Linked DNA regions of Homo sapiens: region 1 is linked to region 2. Evidence: promoter capture Hi-C in 16 types of primary human blood cells and fetal thymus (Javierre and others, 2016). All regions are on one chromosome and are shown on one strand. Each heading gives the region's core, a stretch centred on a gene start or on the middle of the fragment in contact. The rest is flanking DNA. Distances are from core to core; before and after follow the strand shown. Region 1 holds the start of CCSER2 (coiled-coil serine rich protein 2). Region 2 holds the start of BBIP1 (BBSome interacting protein 1).

Region 1 (2,700 bases), core at 4-2,503, about 27 Mb after region 2:
ACACAGATGGTCAAAAGACCTGGACTGTAATCCCCGCCATCCCTTTCTACCTGCGTGACTTTGCGCCTCAAAATAAAGTTGTAGGACCAATGAAGCAGCAATCTTTATTGGTCATGCCCTTTTTATTCCTGTATCATAAAATGGATTTTTTTTAACATAACTGGGGTTTCATTCCTAACCAGCCTACAATCCCAGCACTTTGGGAGGCCGAGGTGGGCGGATCACGAGGTCAGGAGTTTGAGACCAGTCTGGCCAACATACTGAAACCCGTCTCTACTAAAAAAAAATTAGCCAGGTGTGGTGGTGTGTGCCTATAATTCCAGCTACTCAGGAGGCTGAGGCAAGAGAATCGCATGAACCCAGGAAGCAGAAGTTGCAGTGAGCCGAGATGAGGCCATTGCACTCCAGCCCAGGCCACAGTGCAAGACTCTGTCTCAAAAAACACAAAAGAAACCCCAAAACCTGGTGGAGACAGACACATAAACAAATCATTAACTACCAGTTGACAAATACTAACTGGAGAGTGTACGAATCAGTTAAGACAAGAGGGATGAAATGTCTAGACAAGCCTCAGAAGTGCTACTTTCGTAAGGTCTTCAAGGGCAAGTTGTTTACTAGGTAGAGAATTCTCAACAAAGAACACTGAAAAACCACAGAGGAAGATGTCATCTTCAGAGAACTGCAACAGTCTTATATAGAGAGGGCAGGCATAATGGTAGAAGATGACACTAGAATGGAGACAAATACCGCTAATCATGAAGGACTTTGAATTTTATCGATATAGACTATGGAGAGTCACTGAAGGACTTGTAAATATGGATTCAAAGTCCCTTCCTCCAAAATAGTCAAAGGAGTTGAGTCAAAGCAACAAAAAATGCAGGTCTGAATGTGGAAAGGTAGAATTTTTACAGAATTCTTAATAGAGACTTTCGGCTTGCTTTCAGGATGGCTTCTAGTGCTTTCTTAACTATGGCTTATGCTGAAGTACGACAGTATGAATTATGGCTAAAGGGTTCAACAAAGTGTGCATTTTTAACCTGAAGATTATTTGAAGCCAATGTTGTTTAGAACACAAACGAAAACAAAAAATAACAGTAACAAGCTTTCATAAATTAAGAGAAACAGTAATAAAGTCCAAGAGGAAGAAGACTGATTTCAGGCAAACACTCAGGAATATTTACATTTTTATCACATATGGATGACGGATAAGACATGTTTTGAACCCATCTTTTGCAGGAGAGCATCTTAAGTTCCTTTTGGTTAAAGAGCAGCTGCCATCTCTAAAGTCTCTAGTCTAAAAGATGATGCTTTAAAAAAAACAACTGGCCAAATGAATAGGTTCCGTCATATTTTAATGCTCAGGAGAAAAGGAATGCTTTTCATATGGCTATTTTAAAAAGCTTAAAGCTCAATTTCTCTCTTACAGGAGTGAGCTACCAACACTCTAATCTGAGACCAGAGTCCCTGCGTCAGTCATTTCCACTCCGCTAAGGCCTTGTCTGGGAGCAGCCAGCCTCATTGGTCGGGGAGCCCACACAGATGAATATGCAATTACTGAAATGGAAACAAGCTTCGCCACCAAGGACCACCACAAAGGAGTCCCTTCATTCCTCCTTTTACTTTATCAAGAAAGTAGGTGCATTATTTAAAAATGTATGAAAATACATGTCTAAAGACAAGAGAGAAGATCTGAACCTACGGCAACGGTGTGCCCCACCAAAGTTTCACCTCAGGATGTGTTTTAGGGTGTGTCTTTCATTTAGCCCAGTAATTGAAAGAAAAAAAAAATCGAACTCATTCGGGGAGCCCCGGTACTTTCCCTATCCACCCTCACACGCAACCAGGCTCCGAAATCAGAGTGCCTCAGCCTCGCCCTGATTTCTCCTGAAAGGCGGCGGCGCCCGCGGCCCGAGGCCCCGCGCTGTCACAGCCGCAGGGAGGGCGCCCTCCGGCCTCCCGGGTCCGCGCCCGCCCCGCGTCCGGCGGCTCGCGAGGGGCTAGAGAGGCTCACCCTGGAGGCCGGGTACGGGAGGGCGACACCGCCTCAGCCCGGGAGTTCGGGCCTCCGCCCCGCCCCGGACTGCGTGCCTGGTCTTGGGCTGCCCCCGGCGCCCGCCGCGACCCCGGCCCCGGCTCTGGCCCTGAGCCCGGATCTCACCGTGCGGAGGTCGCGCTGCCTCCTCGGCCGCGGCCCAGCTGCAGGCCGCCCTGCGACCTGCGGGCCCGAGGACGGAAGGTGAGACGAAGGGCCGCCCGTCACATCCCCGCCAGCCCCGCCGCCCGAGCCGCAGCAACCAGCATCGCGTCCGCGGCCTGAGGGAGCGCCGGACTCCAAAGCCGCCGCGCCCCCTCCCTCGGCCGGCGCCCGCCCGGACTCCGCCCTCCAGGGCCGGCGCACCGCGCACGCGCAGTCCCGCCCCGCCGCGGGCCCGTGCGCAGGCGCGAGCCTCACGGGGCTACGGGGACCGCCCCCACCGCCTGATCCGGCCTCAGCCCACCTCTGGCCCCGCCCCGCCCTCACGCCAGGCTTTCCCAAGCTCCGCCTCCGCTTCGGGCCCCGCCCCCTCCACTGACCTTGCCTGGCCGCCTCCTGACTCAGGTTTTTGCTGGGCCCACGCAGTGACGCCAGTCTTGCGGCTGACCTCACCTCTAGCCGTCCCCTGGACTACATTTGCTGCTTGAGTGCGGTCAAACCTGACA
Region 2 (2,700 bases), core at 195-2,694:
CCGAATCGGTATTTATTCCACCTGTTTGTAAATCCATAATTCCACAATAACACAAACTGCCTGCTTAAAGAAAGGAAGGAAGAAAAGAAAAAGAAAGAAAAGAAATAAAGAGAAAGGCAAGTTAATGCTTTGGAGTCATTACTCTTCCACCTAGGCATGGGGGGAGGGGGATGGTACAAAAACAATGGATATTGAGGTGCTGGGGGAAAAATCGTCTTGCCCCAAAGCCTCTTGTGTTATGAGCCTGGGGAAGTCGGGGAAGAGTGAGACTACTTTTCCTCTCTCCCTAAAAGCTGTGCTATCACGGGGAGAGGTTGCCATCGGGCATGTTCTACGAGGCGGTCTCGAAGGGCTACAACTCGCTTCGCTAGGCAACACACCCAGAGCCGATCCAGCACTCTTCACTCAAGGGTTTTTAGGGAGAGGAGAACGGGAGAGCAAGGTGGACTCCAGGGAGGGGGCGAGAAGAGACCCCACCCTGTATGACCGCCGCTGCGCCCGGGCCCTCGCCAACGATTTACACGACTCGGGGCGCCCTGCGGACTGGGCCCGGGGGCCCAGGGAGCCGAGAGGAGAGAGACTGTCCGCCGGGGGCCCCCGGCCCGCGCCCTCGCGCCGGCTCGCCGTCGCCCAGGCGCTGTCCGGGCCGCCCGCCGCCGCCGCCGCAGGCCCGGCCCCGGCCGCTGTCACACCCGACCGCCTTCCTCTCCGCGCCGGGCTGCAGGCTCCCACGCGAGCCGGCTCCAAGGGCCCCGCACTCCCGGAGACAGCAACCAGGAAAGCGGCGGCGGCGGCGCCTCCCAGGGCCCCGGCCCCTCGGGCCTCGCCCCGGCGCTGCCGGCTCGCGCCTGTCAGGGCGCACGGGGCCTCCCCCTACCGACAGCCAGCCCGACTGCCCGACGGACAGGAAGGCAGGCAGGAAGAACCGACCAACAGACACCCTCCGCCTCATCGGCCCCGAGTTACCGTCAGGAGCCCCGACTCCGCCATCCTCCTCGCTCGCCCTCCTTCCTCCTCTTCCTCCTCCTCCTAAGAAGCGACGCTGCCCAACCGCCGCCCCCCGCCCGCCCCTCCCCCACTCGCCCCGCCCCGCCCGCCCCGCCACTACTCTCGCTCCAGCCTCCCCGCCCCACCCCTCTGCCGTGGGCCCGTCACTCGCTAGGCAAGAAAAATGGGCGGAACCGGGGCAAGAGAAGCTGCCCAATCAGAGACGGGCAGTGCCGCCAGCTTCTCTCTCTCCGCCCTTGTCCTTTCCTCAGTTCCTCTACGCCGTCTCCCGCCCACTGGGCGCCTCTGGCTAGCCGGGCTACAGAGTAAGCCTCCAGCAGGGTAGAGTGACAACTCCCCGATCGGAAGTTACTGTTGAAGCTAAGGCGGCCATAACTGATAATGGCAAAAGGAGATTCCTGGCTTCCTGTTTCCAGGGTGACGTAGATTTTTTTCCTTCGCCAGTCTCACCGTTACCCGGGGCAACAGCTGAGCCGTCTGGGAAGGGATGCATCTGTAAGTAAGCCCAAAGAGGTACCGTGGGTGACCACACATCCCATGTTAGACAAGTTAATTCATACTCCGGATTACACGTCCAGTTTCCTGGCCCTTATTTTACTGAGACGTCTGGTCACTTACGGAGATGGACAACAGTTTAGGGCTCCGAAATTCCCTCTCCTGCCCGGAAGTTGCATTTGGCACTTCCGAATTGGGTCATGGCGGAAGGGTGTTAATAGCCTGGCCGCCCGTGCCCCAGGGAATGCTTATTTTTGACCTTAGTTGCAAAGTGAGGTGAGTCCGTGGACCCCAACCAGTGGGCCGGACCCGGGCCGGACGGTCCCTGTGGGACAGAGCGCTGAAATGGCGAGCGGGGCTCAGGGCCGCTTCCGTTGGAAGGCGGTTTTTTTCCGGGCTGGCCTGGCGGCGGCCCGCCCCCGTGAGGCTCCCTGTGGGGTGAGGCCGCTCTACAGGCCGCCCTAACCCAGCCAGAGGCAGCCCGGCCGGGAGGACCCCAGCGGGGAATGGGCGGGGACCTCGGGGCGGAGCTCCTAACTCCGGCAAAACGGAGCTCTTGACCACGCCTCCGCAAGTTCCTATTAAGTACTTTCACTCCTTGGCCTTTGGAGGGAGGAGAATTCGGGAACTTCAGAAAATCATTTTCCACCTTCACCTATAAAAGGAAAAGATGAGCCCCTACCACCAGGGCAGGACCTCAATCTTTTTCCCCTGCCACCTGCCTTCCCATTCTGATTTTTCCCCCCTTTCCGCGTCTCTCCTTTGAGTCTTTGTAAGCTTTGACTGCGGTTCTGGTGGTGGGATTCCTGCAGGTCTACAGTTTCTTAAACAACGTGTTGAAGATTTTTGAAAATACTGTATTGCTTTTATATGGCCCTTTACAAAGTTATCATACATTATCTTGTAGTTTCTTCTGTATGCTTGAGTCAAGAACTCTAAGTCATCTTGGTAATACCGGGTTGGATGCTTAAAGCTGCAGCAAAAAGACCAGAACTTTCAGGTAAAATTGAAAATGGTTAATATCCAGCCAGTCAACAATACAGATGCAAACCTACCTTCTCGACTTAATTTCTGCTTCCTTAGTACTTACACGCCAGCCAAAATGAACTACTCTTGTTTCTTTGCTGTTAATTACTGAAATCTGTTGTAGCAGTCACCTTTTGTGATTCTGTATCTGATTCTGTTACCCGTGGAGAT

The links. Contacts are between HindIII fragments. The CHiCAGO score rates a contact against its expected background, and 5 or more counts as called.
Region 1: a fragment that was not itself captured here is called in contact with the fragment with the promoter of BBIP1 in region 2 in 1 of 17 cell types (fetal thymus); the score reaches 7.0 in fetal thymus.

Annotation. Positions count from the first base shown.
Region 1 is chr10:84,328,267-84,330,966 of GRCh38, reverse strand. CCSER2 (coiled-coil serine rich protein 2) reads right to left here and starts at 2,378. Exons shown (of 10, transcript NM_001284240.2): 1 at 2,159-2,378. RefSeq lists enhancers at 358-437, 1,485-1,834 and a silencer at 1,885-2,614. The HindIII fragment of the contact is 298 bases long and covers 1,105-1,402 here.
Region 2 is chr10:110,917,924-110,920,623 of GRCh38, reverse strand. BBIP1 (BBSome interacting protein 1) reads left to right here and starts at 1,444. Exons shown (of 4, transcript NM_001195305.3): 1 at 1,444-1,503; 2 at 2,411-2,503. The coding sequence starts at 2,467. SHOC2 (SHOC2 leucine rich repeat scaffold protein) reads right to left here and starts at 1,020. Exons shown (of 9, transcript NM_007373.4): 1 at 967-1,020. RefSeq lists silencers at 561-650, 661-1,100, 1,951-2,110 and enhancers at 1,321-1,370, 1,391-1,590, 1,280-1,819. The HindIII fragment of the contact is 2,602 bases long and covers 1-2,282 here.